3 separate regions of the Homo sapiens genome follow, and all the other regions are linked to region 1. Evidence: promoter capture Hi-C in 16 types of primary human blood cells and fetal thymus (Javierre and others, 2016). All regions are on one chromosome and are shown on one strand. The core of a region is centred on a gene start or on the middle of the fragment in contact, and the rest is flanking DNA. Distances in the headings are between cores, read along the strand shown.

Evidence for each region. The method cuts DNA at HindIII sites, captures the fragments that hold promoters and counts their contacts. A CHiCAGO score of 5 or more calls a contact.
Region 2: a fragment that was not itself captured here is called in contact with the fragment with the promoter of C2CD5 in region 1 in 9 of 17 cell types (non-activated CD4 T cells, M0 macrophages, naive B cells and 6 more); the score reaches 10.5 in non-activated CD4 T cells.
Region 3: a fragment that was not itself captured here is called in contact with the fragment with the promoter of C2CD5 in region 1 in 1 of 17 cell types (non-activated CD4 T cells); the score reaches 6.5 in non-activated CD4 T cells.

The regions. Positions count from the first base shown.
Region 1 is chr12:22,541,853-22,546,411 of GRCh38, reverse strand. C2CD5 (C2 calcium dependent domain containing 5) reads left to right here and starts at 1,870. Exons shown (of 27, transcript NM_001286176.2): 1 at 1,870-2,092; 2 at 2,233-2,351. The coding sequence starts at 2,262. RefSeq lists enhancers at 1,740-1,969, 3,110-3,629 and a silencer at 2,110-2,229. The HindIII fragment of the contact is 7,848 bases long and covers 1-4,559 here.
Region 2 is chr12:22,058,714-22,063,272 of GRCh38, reverse strand. CMAS (cytidine monophosphate N-acetylneuraminic acid synthetase) reads right to left here. Exons shown (of 8, transcript NM_018686.6): 5 at 2,347-2,441; 6 at 1,821-1,992; 7 at 839-992. Among named protein-coding and RNA genes, the nearest start is that of CMAS, 15 kb to the right of the region's middle. The HindIII fragment of the contact is 1,555 bases long and covers 1,970-3,524 here.
Region 3 is chr12:22,076,136-22,080,694 of GRCh38, reverse strand. All of the region lies in intron 1 of LOC105369690 (a long non-coding RNA gene), which reads left to right. Among named protein-coding and RNA genes, the nearest start is that of CMAS, 32 kb to the right of the region's middle. The HindIII fragment of the contact is 1,243 bases long and covers 1,528-2,770 here.

The DNA.
Region 1 (4,559 bases), core at 621-3,120:
ATAGTGTAGCCAACCTTCAGAATTCTGGCAAGGGTATTTTAAGGGCAGAGTCAGACTCCAGAAAAAGCTGCAGGTGGACCTAAGGAAATTCGCATGGGATCTATGACCCCTATTCCTTTGACATAGTTTGAATTGATAAAAGTTTCTCTAGTCCAAAAAGCAAGCGATTTTTTTAGATTTTTATTTTGAGGAAGTCGTTTTCTCTGTAGGAGTTCAATTTCTCACTTATGTGAACAATATTCCTGCCATAGAAGGAATTTTTGTCATGAAAAGATAATTCGGGATCACTACTGTTTGGAGTATTTACTCTATTGAGTATTTTCGAAGTTAAAAAGATCATACGGATATCTTCACTTAGGAATGAAATGTTACAATCTTTGAGCCGGCATGAACTCTGATTTTGTTGATACTGGGTATACTGTCAATGCTGATTTTGATATTTGGTAAGGACTGATTTATTTACATCTTGTGTGTGCCTCAATTTCCCTAATATGGTCTGAGCCTGTAGATAACACCTTACTTTATTTATAGTTGGGTCAATTCTTCAAGATGTTTAACGCTCTCCATGTTTATTTCTTGTGGTTGACTATACTTTCCATGGTAGGAAGTCCTGAACTTCTGCTACTACTGTAGGTCTTATCTTTAGGCTTGTGGATGCTTAATAAGAACACTGAGATGATCTAAGAGTGCAGGACATTTAATTAAAAAAAAATTTTTTTTAAGAGACAGAGTTTTGCTCTGTTGCCCAGGTTGGGGTGCAGTGGTGAGATGGCAGCTCACTGCAGCCTCAAACTCCTGGGCTCAAGCAATTCTCCCAGATTCTCCCACCTCAGCTTCCTAGGTAGCTGAGACCACAGACGAGCCACCGGCCCAGCTAATTTTTGCATTTCTTGTAAAGAAGGGGTCTTACTGTGTTGCCTCGTCTCCATGAGGCTGGTCTCGAACTCCTGGACTCAATCGATCCTCCCACCTCAGCCTCCCACAGTGCTGGGATTACAAATCTGAGCCACCACACCTACCAGCAGAAACTTTTTTTCAAGAGGAGACTTTGGATTTCAAGGTGACCTCCCCCACCCCGCCCACAGTAATATCTGTGACCCAGTGCACAACACAAGTGCCTATGACTGAATAAAATATTTCACTAAATATTTATTTCACTATTCGAGATGTGCCTGGTATCTCTATTTCTTTCTTTCTTTTTTTTCTTTTTTTGGAGACAGAGGAGTGATCTCGGCTCACTGCAACCTCCGCCTCGCAGGTTCAAGCGATTTTCCTGCCTCAGCCTCCTGAGTAGCTGGAATTAGAGGCGCTCGCCACGACGCCCAGCTAATTTTTGTATTTTTAGTAGAGACGGGGTTTCGCCATGTTGTCCAGGCTGGTCTTGAACTCCTGACCTCAGGTGATCCGCCCGCCTCGGCCACCCAAAGTGCTGGGATTACAGACGTGAGCCACTGTGCCTGGCCATCTAACTCTATTTCACAGAAAACTGGAACCACCACACGCACCTGTACCCCTTCCAAGTAGAAACCAGCTAATTTGGTTTTACGAATCACTAAAGGCCGACTGAAAACGCTCTTCTAGCAGTCTTCGCTGCTACTCCATCTATCACAGCCCATCCGAAAAGCGGCGGTAGCAGCTGGGAAGGCCGCGGCCGGAGGCTGTCACAGAGCAGCACTCGCGCTTCGGCCCGCAAGATGGAGCGTTTCCCTCCAGGGAAGCAGCGCCGCACCTATCCACAGCCCCCACTCGGTGGATGATGCAGGACTCGGCCCATTTCCCTGCCCTCCAGCTTTCTCAACGTCAGCCCCGCCCCCTTATCTTTCCTCGGCGAGTTTAGTTTCGCCCCGCCAAGTGGGCAGAGCGCCGAACGATCGATGCTTTCTTCCGCGCCCCGAGAGCCGCCATTTTTGAGAGCGGGGGAGGAGAGACAAGCAGGGGCGGCAGAGGCTCAACGGGATGCTGACTGGGTTTTGCTTTTCGTCCCAGCCTTGTGGGGCCGGGACGGAAGAACCCATCAAAGCCCTTCCTCCCGCCGCCTCTCCGGAATGAGGTCTCAGCACCCGCGCGGGACAGCACCCTTCCTCCTGCGACAGTGAGTGGCGACCCGTGGCGCGACTGCCGGGCGCCCGCGCGCGCCCCCGCGCGCTCCTTCGCTGTCAGTTACCCCGCGCGCCTCCGCCCCTCTCCCGCCGGCCCCGCGCTCGGCGCAGACTCGTTTGTTTGTTTCTGCAGGAGCCCAAGAAGAGGCCGAAACCGAGACCATGCCAGGGAAGCTGAAGGTGAAAATCGTGGCCGGGCGCCATTTGCCAGTGATGGACCGTGCTAGTGACCTGACTGATGCCTTCGTGGAGGTTGGTGCAGGGTCCTGCCCCTCAAAACACAGGGAGCGCCAAGCCCTGTGAAGGATCTACCCACCTCGCCCCCAGCCCCTCAGCCTATTCCCCCCTCGACTGCCCTCCCTTCGGCCGTGGTTGTCCAGCTCTCCCACGAGGGATGACCGCCGAGACCTCAGTGTGTGCGATGGGTGCACGGCTTGCAGGCGTCCGCGGCACAGTCCGCTGCGCGGGGAGGCTTGTACTGTTGTGCATGCGGGGGTGACCCTGATGTCAGGACTCATTAACAGGCCACCTGCCACTCAGGAGATCCCAAGGCGTGGCCGCGCAGCCACCGACACACTCACACACATACACACACACACACACAAATGCCGGAATGACTCTGATGTCAGGACTCATTAACAGGCCACCTGCCACTCAGGAGATCCCAAGGTGTGGCCCCGCAGCCACTGAAACACACACACACACAGGCACACACACACCCTTGGAAGGGGTGGCCAGAGTGCTGGACATCATGTTTAAGAAGGTGCATGAAGCCCTTTATGGGCACTTGGAGTCCCACAGTGCGAGGAAATCCACTCTCATGCCTAACATTTTGTGAATCTGCCATGCACGTTCTAAAACACAACTGCAACACTTCCTGCTCTTGTATAGGCTGGTAGGTCTGATGAGGTGTTTCAGGGTAATTTAGCGCCTTGAGGTAGGAAGTCATTTAATTGCCATGGACTTAAATTGCAAAATTGCTTTTTAAGTCTAATGATTAGTTTAAAAGTCATGCAAATTAGTAAAGGCCTACGGCCGGAAGGTAATAACCCAGAGTCTGAAAGAAGCCAAGTAAAGATTGTAATAAAAATTGGCGTGATGAGCCAGAGCATTAGAGCAGCAATCATTTGGGCTATTAGTGCTTAGAATTGATGGATAGATATATCATAATATATAGCTCGATTTCATCTCAATATTCCTGATGTTTCCTAAATGTTCTCTAACCGAATAATTACAGTTCACTGCCTCCCCTGCCCATTGTCATGGTGATTCTTAATCACTTCATTTGAGAAAGTTCTTGAGTGCTCTTGTGCCAGATGTTAGGTGATAGGAATCCACAAATAACTAAAACATAGTGTTTGCTTTCCGGTAGTTCAGACATTGACCCACACAGCCTATTTAATAACTAATAGGTAACGTGTTGAATTTAATAATTGCCAGATCTGTACTAAGTACTTTTAAATTCTTAGTTTTCACAACAGTCCTGCTATAGGAGTATTGTTATTGTCCCATGTTACAGTGGATGTAACTGAGGCCCAGGAAGGGTAAATAATTTGCTTAAGGTTACATAGCTTGCAAACCTCCACAGCCTGACAGTTTGTTCTCTTAACCACTCTGCTAATACGGCCTCACCAAAGTGATGAGTATTGTATTAGAATATGGAAAGAATTCTGTCTCTGAAGGTTGAGAAAGGCTTCTTGTGAAAGTGACATTTGAAGTGGGCCTTGAAGGACACCCAGGATTTTACCAGGCAAAGGGAACATCAAAGGCAAAGGCATAGACTGGGATATATAGTATGTTCAGGAAACTGCCTTAGTTTAGTACGTGTCTGGAGGAAAGGGTATGAGATATGTGGGTAGTGGAGCTTGTTAGGGATGAGGCTGGAAAGCCCCATTTTCTATAAAACCTCATTTTCTGTAATATTTATAAGGAGCGACAAGGAAGCTGAATGCAGGTCACTGCAGCCTCCAACTCCTGGCCTCAAGCCATCCTCCTGCCTCTCCCGCTTCGGCCTCCCAAAGTGCTGGGATTATGGGCCTGAGCCACCACGCCTGGCCAGGGGAGTTTTTTAAGCAGAAATAAAATAAGATCATGTTTGTATTAGTTTGTTTCTTTATAGGATGGCCTGAATGGGGATGCTATTGATGGACTAGACAGATGGGAAGTGTGGCAGGGAGATCAGTTAAGAAGGTGGTAAAATTATCCAGGTAATATGTGGGAATGGGAATAGGAATGGATTTGAACAGAAAGATTTGTGGGACATTTCTTAGGTTAAAATAGTCAGGCCTTGATAACTAGGTGGATTTTGCTGGTGAGGAAGGGGGCTGATTCAGGGGTTACTTATTACTTCCTTCTTTGAACAAATTGAGTGTCTGCCGTTTGCCAGGCTCTGGGCTAGTTACTGGTCTAGCCGATGTATATACATGGTGAATAAGACAGACTTGGTTCCTTCTCTTAATT
Region 2 (4,559 bases), core at 1,498-3,997, 480 kb after region 1:
CAAAGTTTTTCCTGTGCTTCTTATTTTGAGGCTCATATTACCCTTGTAAATACTGCTTTCATACATGATTTATAGTTATTATGCATCTTAATAACTTATCAATTTTAAAATGTTGACATCATCAGACTGTAAGCTCTGCAAGCAGAAAGCCTACAGTTCCCACAACCAGTTCCATGCTGCGTATCATCATAGGTACCTGGTAAGTAAGTGTATTGCTTAATATCCAAGTGAAAAACATTGTTATATTTGATCATGCAAATAAATACAGGTCACAGCACTGTTTGTAATGGTTGCATAGTAATCCTTTTTAGGGATATTCTATTTTTCACAGGACATTTAAGTGGGTTCTTTTAACTTCACTATTGGCCCATTTGTCTCATTTCTTTCCTGGAATTGGAATTTGGAGGAAAAAGTATGTACATTCAATTAGCAGCAAAAACTATTCAGAGTGTAATTCATATGTACTAGAAATTCTGCTAAGTGCTTTACTCATATTATTTTATTAATCCCTTCCAGAGCCCTACGGTAATAGGTACTCTCGATATCTCCAGTTTACAGATGAGGAAACAACATTCATCTTATCACAACTGGCTAATCAGTGGTACAGTCTGACTTCACAGCTTGTGCTAATAATCATTCTACATTTGATACCTATTATCAAACTAACCTCCAGAAAGACTGTCCCAGTTTAACAGTTTGATCAGCAGTGTTTGTTAAAAGAGTTCCTATTTCCCTACAATCATACCCATTTGGAGGATGTGCTTTGTCATTTCTTTAAAAATAAGTAAATAATTAATTCCTGGTCCATTTTACTATGGGTGAATAAAAAGATACCAACCAAGATATGCCACTTCTTTCCAGCACAGGCCCATTTCTTTTCTCCATTCATCTACAACTGCTAGCTTGTCTGATACACTGACTTCCATTTTGCAATCCAGTTTTAAAGAAGACAGCGTCTGCTTTGAACAGGCCCTTTCTGAGATTAGCCTCACCTTAAAAAAAAAAAAAAAAAGGATTGGAGGAAGAAGGGAAAAATTAAAAAGTGAAGAAAACAGAAATCTTTCATAATAATTGACCTTGTAGACAGTCCAAATCACAAACGAGTCATCTTTTGACTTTCTGAAGGTCCAAGTAAGAAAACTGACTGTCGAATTAAAATCATGATGCTTTAAAACAAAGCTCATTTTATTTCTCATAGCCCAATAAAGGTGAGACACAGTATTTTATTTTCTACAATAGAAAGGATTCTATCTACAGGTAAAAATTACAACATATATTGTCTGATACTACTCTAAGATTCTCCTATAATTCAATTTATCCAGAGGAAAGTCTATAACCTCTCTCTTGTGCTGCTTAGCAATACATATTTAGGATTTCTGGTAAATTATAATTATCTTAGCTAGCTTTCATTTAAAAAAATACACTTAAACGTTAAGTTATTTTGAATCAAAAATGTCATTCATAAGAATAAGCTAGATTTTAAAAATCCACAGGATATCGTCCTTTTCTAAAATGGTACACCTATTATCTAGGGAATCTTTCTTGCTGCAAGATCCTTTGGGAAACATTAGATAGCTCCCATTTAAAAGTAGTTATGTTTATATTTACTGAATAAACAAGAAATATTATTTGCTGATTAACAAATTCCTAATTCTACTCATCTAAAACTAAATAGTATAATAATTTTCTAGGCGTATGAAGGCCAAATTTCAGATATTTTAAGAGTTAATACTAAAAATTTAAATCTCTTAATTCCTTGCATGTTCTTTGACCCTGAATCAAAATATTATAAAATACTGCTATATTCAGGGAGCACATACCTCAATACCACTTTTCTTTAATAAACTTATCCCAATAGCATCTTTTACATCATAAGATATTATTTCTTTTTGGTCTCCTGATACATAAATGTGGCCATTGGTGAGACATCCATCAATATTGCAAACCAAAAGTTTTATTTCCTTAAGCTTCTCTTTGCCAAAATAGCCATATCTAAAAGAAACCAAAATAGACCTTTGAGTACAAGTGCAGTACTAATCACTCCCTCTCATCTGGCTAAACCAATACATGAAATGTCACCCTCCATTCAATTATTCAAACATTACTCTCCAAATTTACTTCACATATATATTTTAACATATAGTACAGTAAGTAAAAGTAGTGTGGTCTAGCCAGATAATGTTTCTCACTTTATTGAAGCCATGTAAACACATATTTTACATGTCTTCCTCACATGAACAAAGTAATTACAAAGATCCTAAGATGTCTGAAGTATCAGAAATCAGTATCTAGAAATATAATTATTAAGATTTAGTACAAAGGTTATAAAGGTTTATTTGTTTTTACCTTAATACTCTTTGCTCTGCAATAGGCCAATCAATATCCACATCTATATCCACACTATGTTCAGCTCGCATTTCGTAGTATGCCATTTTTCCACCCTAAAGGTAGTATAAATGTCATGAATACTGTTTTTAATATTCATTCACATATATCAAAACTTTATTATAATACAGAACAATGAATTCATTTCTACAGTACTGAGAAAAATGAATAACCCAGTAAAAATCAGTCACATAAAAATGATTTTTAAATTTATTTTTACTTTTTTATTTTTTCGAGTCAGGGTTTCACTCTGCCTCCCAGGCTGGAGTGCAATGGTGCAATCATAGCTCATTATAACCTTGAAATCTTAGGCTCAAGCAATCCTCCCACCTCAGCCTCCTAAGGATCTGGTACTACAGGTATACAGCACCATGTCCGGCTAAATTTTTAAAAAGTTTTTTGTAGATATAAGATCTTGCTATGTTGCCAAGGCTGGTCTTGGAAACCTGGCCTCAAGCTATCCTCTTGAGGCCTCAAGCTGGCCTCTCAAAGTGCTGGGATGACATGCTTCAGCCACCACGCCCAGCTTTTTTTTTTTTTTTTTTTTTTTTTTTAAGGAGAAAGCTCACACAAAAGAAATAACCTTAACATTTTTCAAATTCTATCTAAACAGTTCAAGTTCCCTATTTAAGAAAATTTCTATTTTAATATTGAAAAAAGCAGAAATATTACATCCTCCAGGTTTCTGACCACAAGGGATTTTGTGGAAATCCCTTAATCATATCCTCCTTTTTTTCAAGAAGTCTCTCCTGTCATCATCCAAAAGCAGTATTAAGGTTTTTGGAACTTCTGTTCTAATTTGCAACTAACAGGCAACACAGGGGAGGAAAAATAACTGTAGCATCTGTTGTACAGAGTTTTCTTAGATCTCTGAGCTACTGATGAAAATGACTAATAGTCATCCAAGTCACATGCAGGCAAAGGCAAGGGCAGTCTCTTGATTCTAGGCAAGGGTCAGCAAGAGAAAGGGTCTTTCTTCTGATAGTAATTATTTGAATGACAAGATCAATTACTGGACAATTTCAATTTCATTTTTTTTTTCAGAATTGTCAGTCTCTTCATAAACCTTGTTTTAATGAGAAACATTTTTCTCCACACTTTAGGAATGGGTTAATCATGGTCCTCCTTAGAAAAAAGCTTAAAAATGGTAGTATCTATGTGTGTCAAATCCAATTTTTCTGAACACTTAAATTTAACTAAACAGCTAGTCTATAGTTTGCCTACACATTGACCAGAAGATTTGTAAAAATGTTTTTCTCTCTTTTGCTCAGAATAATAGTCCCATTAGAATTTTTATTACACAATGGAGAGGTTTCTCTCTCTCTCTTTAAAACCGCTATTTCTTGAGTAACATAAGAACCTGAATCCAAATCCTGACAGTACCATTTATTAGCTGTTTTTGCCTTGAGTCAATTACTTCATATTTCAGTGAGGCAGTTTTCCTCCTCTGTAAAACTGGGTAGAAATGTCCACTTCATTCATTCGCTATGCAGATTACATAAGATAACATATGCAAAGTGTTTCACCTACTCCGAAGTACACAGTAAATAATAAATAATAATGATAACTAAAATTAACAAGTTAAGAAATATATGATGCAACCATGTTGCAGGCTCTAAAATGAGAGAGACATTAAATCTGTTATTTGAAAATGAGAGTCAGGACAGATAAAATGATACATATTCAAGCTTACATAGTAAGAGGCAGTTGACTTAAAGTATAATAAAAAAAAAAAAAAATATATATATATATATATATAAAAAGATTCCGGGTTTCCTGACACCCAGGTTGTAACTCTTTTCACCTCTATGAAATTATTTGTCTTTTTAAAGCAATAGAAGTTATTCAACCCTACAGCCACAATATAACTATAACACAAACATGGATTACGTAGTTTTGAGTGGAATAATATGAGTACCAGGACATGTGTAGACACCCAGTACTTGATTCATTTTTTTATCGTTGTAGCAGAATTCCTTGCATATTTACTGAATGGATTCCAAAGATCACTTTGGGGTAAACCTGCAGGATAAATGCCTCAGATAGCAAATGTTGTTGGCTATTACCTTTCCTCTATAGGTTGATACTTTTCTTTATCATAAAGAAATTGTACCATACTTCTTCCCTAGAACTCAAAGTATGCCTACAAAAGCGCTTAAAAGGGTTATGCAAAA
Region 3 (4,559 bases), core at 900-3,399, 470 kb after region 1:
CATTAAAAATTAAACTCCTTCCATTAGAAAGTAGACTCCATCTTCTGACCCCTTGATCTGAGCTGGATGGTCAGTAACTTGACTCACTTTGACCAGTAAAATTGAGGCTGAAGTAACATTGTGTGACTTCTGGGGAAGTTATCAAAAAGTGTTGCAGCATCCAATCTCACCTTCCAGCTGCTCAGAGACTGTCACGTTAAGACACTTAAACTAGTTTCCTTAAAGTTGAAAGACTGCAAGAAGAGAACAGCCCAGACACCAGTAGATATATGTGAGGGAAATTGACTTGGACTGTTCATCGATTCCCACCATCAACTGACTGCAACCACAGAGTGAGACCATGAAAACAACTCTACTTACCTTAGCCCAAATTGTTGATCCACAGAATTATGAAAAAGTAGTTATTTTTTCAAGTAAACGTGCTTTGAAGCTATTTGTTATATAGTAATTGATAATTGACAGAGCATATGATACTGTCGTTTGATCGATTTACCATGGAATTTCTCTTCCTATCATTTTGTTTTTAACTTTTCTGAGTCTTTAAATTTAAAGTAGGTTTGTGGTAGCCAGCACACAGGTAAGTCTAGTTTTTTTTTTTAATTTAATTCAACCTGACAGTCTCTGGTGTGTTTAGAACATTCATATTTAAAGGGATTATTGATATAGTTGCATTAAAATTTACCATCTTTGTAATTGTTTTCTGTTCATTGCATTTGTTCTTTATTTCTTTCTCCTGCTGTTTTTCTGACTTCTCTGGGGTTAATTAAGCATTTTGTATGATTTGATTTTATATCTTTACTTGGTATATCATATATCTTTTATAAAAAATTTAGTAATATCCCTAGGGTTTACAATATATATTTTAAAATAAGTCCACCTTCAAATAACATTATATAACTTTATAAGACTACTCCCGATTCATTCCTCCCATTCCTTGTGACATTGGTGTCAATTATTTCACTTGTCCATATGCTATAGTCACCCTATACATTGTTACTATTATTACTTTAAATAGCTATCTTTTAGATCAATTAAAAATATTATTTTAATTTCACTTGTTCCTTTTCTAATGCTTTTCTTTGTATAATTTTTGACCTATATCATTTTTTTTTCTCTCTGAAGAATATCTTTAACATTTTTGCAGGGCAGGTCTGCTGGCAATGAAATCCCTCAGTTTTCTCCACAAAAGGCTTTATTTTTCACCGTTGAAGGAAAATTTTGCTGAATATAGAAATATAGGTTGACAGGGTTTGTTTCAGCATTTCAAAGATTTCACCTCACTCTTCTTGCTCACGTGTTTCTGAAGCCAAATCTGATATAATCTGTATCCTTAGTTCTGGTTTGTTTTTTTTTTTTTCTCCTTCTGGCTTCCTTCAAGATTTTCTTTGTCTTTGATTTGCTGCAGTTTGAATATGAAATGCCTGGTTGTAGGATTTTATTTTTAATTGTTTGTTTTGGACTTCTCTGAGCTTCCTGGATTTGTAGTTTGATGATACCGTTATTATCTTCAATTAGAGCCAGGAAGCTTAGCCACAGAAAGGTTGGCTTTGGTGTTTGTCATTAGTTTTGGGAGTTCTTAGCCATGTATTATTTCAAATATTTCTTCTGTCCTGTTCTATTTCTTATGCTTCTGGTATTCAGTTATACCTTTTGATATTGGCCCACAGTTCTTGCATATTGTATTCTTTTTTAAAATTTATTTTCCTTCTGTTTTTCAGTTTGGGAACTTTTAAAATTGAGCAATATTCTGGCCGGGCGCAGTGGCTCACGCCTGTAACCCAGCACTTTGGGAGGCCGAGGCGGGTGGATCACGAGGTCAGGAGTTCGAGACCAGCTGACCAACATGGTGAAACCCCGTCTCTACTAAAAATACAAAAATTAGCCAGGCATGGTGGTGCGTGCCTGTAATCCCAGTTACTTGGGAGGCTGAGGCAGGAGAATCACTTGAACCTGGGAGGTGGAGGTTGCAGTGAGCCAAGATCACGCCACTGCACTCCAGCCTGGGCAACAGAGTGAGACCCCGTTTCAGAAAAAAAAAAAAAAAATTTGACCAATATTCAAGTTTACCTATTCTTTCCTTAGCTATCTCAAGTCTACTGATAAACCACCAAAAGGCATTCCTCATTTCTGCTACTGTTTCTTTGATTTCTAGCATTTCCTTTTGATTCTTTCTCATAGTTTCTGTCTGTATTGACATTATCTATCTGATTTTGCATGTTGTGTACTTTTTTCCATCCCTTTTTTTATTAATCATAGTGTAACTGTGTACCCTCATTTTTCTAAGAGATAGTTTTTTACTATCTTTCTTCTTCTCGCTCTCCTTCTTTTCCCCACTTCCTACTTAGGTCTTTAGAAATGCAGTTATAGCCTTTACCTCCTCTTCACCAGACACTCCCTAGAGGGCAAGTTTATTTAACTAGGTTGTTAGAAGCTCCAGAGTGAAACTCTCCTACCAGGAGGCTGCCTAAAGAAACAACAGTCCATCTACTACCTAAAGTATTTCCACTGTGAAACTCTCTCCCACCTGGAGAATTTTCTGCTGCTTTTACAACCTAGTCTTGTCCACAAAGGGACCAGCAGTTACCAGCTTGACCACCCGGTAGATAAGGCACCGAGGCTAGTATGCAGACCCCCCACCTGCTCACTGACTCCTCTGCATGTCATTCATGCCAGCATGCTGGGCCCCCTTTAAAAGCACCCCACTTTCTGCTCCAAAAGTGAGGTGGTACCCATAAAGACAAGATCCTGCTCCTCTTCCCCTAAGCAAGCTTTGGAATAAAATGTCACTTTCTTTATACCTTGCTCCTGTTAATTGGAGTGACTGGACTTGTGTTTTGGTTACAAAATGTGGAGTGGGGAGTGACTGGACTTGTGTTTTGGTTACAATTTTTGTGGCTCATATGGGGAAGTACTTCATGCCCTGGGTGAGCTAACTTTGTCAGCCCAGTTTCACTACCAGGTGAGGTGTGGGGTCACCTGTGAGTGCCAGCTGCTCATGGCTAGCAGACCCCATAATGGGAACATTAGGAAACTTCCCAGAAGCTGCCAAAAATGAATTTGTTTTGGGGGAAGCTCCCTTTTGCCTCATGGCATGACAACTGCTGCCTTTGGTGCTTCACTGGTACAAGCAAAATGGCCTCTTAAGACGCTGACAAACTTTGAAACTGAGTGAGTAGTTGGAGTGTACCCAAACTGGGTGGCCTTGCCCTATTTAAGACTTGGCTCTTTTGGGGTGTCGCTGGGGCCGTGCTATATATATATTATTTTTTTTTTTGAGATGGAGTCTTGCTCAGCTGCCCAGGCTGGAGTGCAGTGGCCCAGTCTCGGCTCACTGCAACCACCATCTCCCAGGTTCAAGCGATTCTCCCGTCTCAGCCTCCCAAGTAGCTGGGATTACAGGCACCCGCCATCATGCCCCACTAATTTTTGTATTTTAGAAGAGATAGGGTTTCTCCATGTTGATCAGGCTGGTCTTGAACTCCTGACCTCAGGTGATCCGCCCACCTTGGCCTCCCAAAGTGCTGGGATTACAGGCATGAGCCACCGCGCCTGGCCCAAGGCCCTACTGTATTTAAGACCTGGCTGCTAGTGATAGCATTTGAGCATTTTATGCATTTGTATTTATTTGAATATGAAGTTCCATAGGAACTTGGCTCAGACTCAGCTTCCTGTGGAGCCATTTGGAACTGGGGCGGGGGATTCAGGACCTCACCCAGACCCTTGACTGGGGACTCATTTGGAAGCACACCATTTGCATGTGTGAATGAATGACTTTTTGTATGGGCCCTATTGCCTTTCTTTGCTCTCTACCTCCCATTTCACCCTCCTGACTATCTCGGAGAGCTGCCCACCTAGGGTGCTGAGACTCTCCCTGATAAATGAGAAGGGCGGGCCTGGTGCCCCCACACTGTGTAATGGTTGGAAGGTTCCCAAGGTTCCATCTGGTCACTTTACCTTTTTTTTTCTTCTCCTCCTTTCTTTCTCACACCCCACTTGTGAAACCTGGCTCCCATGCCCAGTACGAACTTCACCGGGGCATAGGCCTGGCTCCTGTGCAGGCTGTCTTTCCCTCTCTCTTCTTTTCTCCCTACTTTAAATATGCTGTTACTAAGCTGCTGGTGCTGAGATAGGACTCATGTGGTCTAACTAGAATGTAAACGTTGGAAACTGTTTTGAAACTGAGGGAAGAAAAGATGAGTTTGGGTTTTTTTCTTCTTTTTTATAAGGAAGGGGTTTCTTTTGGAGCCAGGAGCTGTGCAACCACCTGGGGTTAGGGGAGCGGGGATGCCAGAACTCCTTTAGCCGCCCCAGCTGGTGTCTAGTAGGTCACGTGCCCCTCCAGTCCACTGTCCCTTGACCGAGTCCAGCACTAGGACTCTCCTAGGTGTTGAAGTCCTTGTGGCCTCAACTGTCTTTCACGTTTATTTAGAGCCTCAGAACACTTTAGCTCGTGGTGGCAAGGCTTGTAGGAACTCAGGGTCTGACAGTTGGGATCAGTGATTTCCCTCTGGCTAGGGCTGGTTTAAATGCTCCCTCCATAGACAGGCATCAGCTGAATT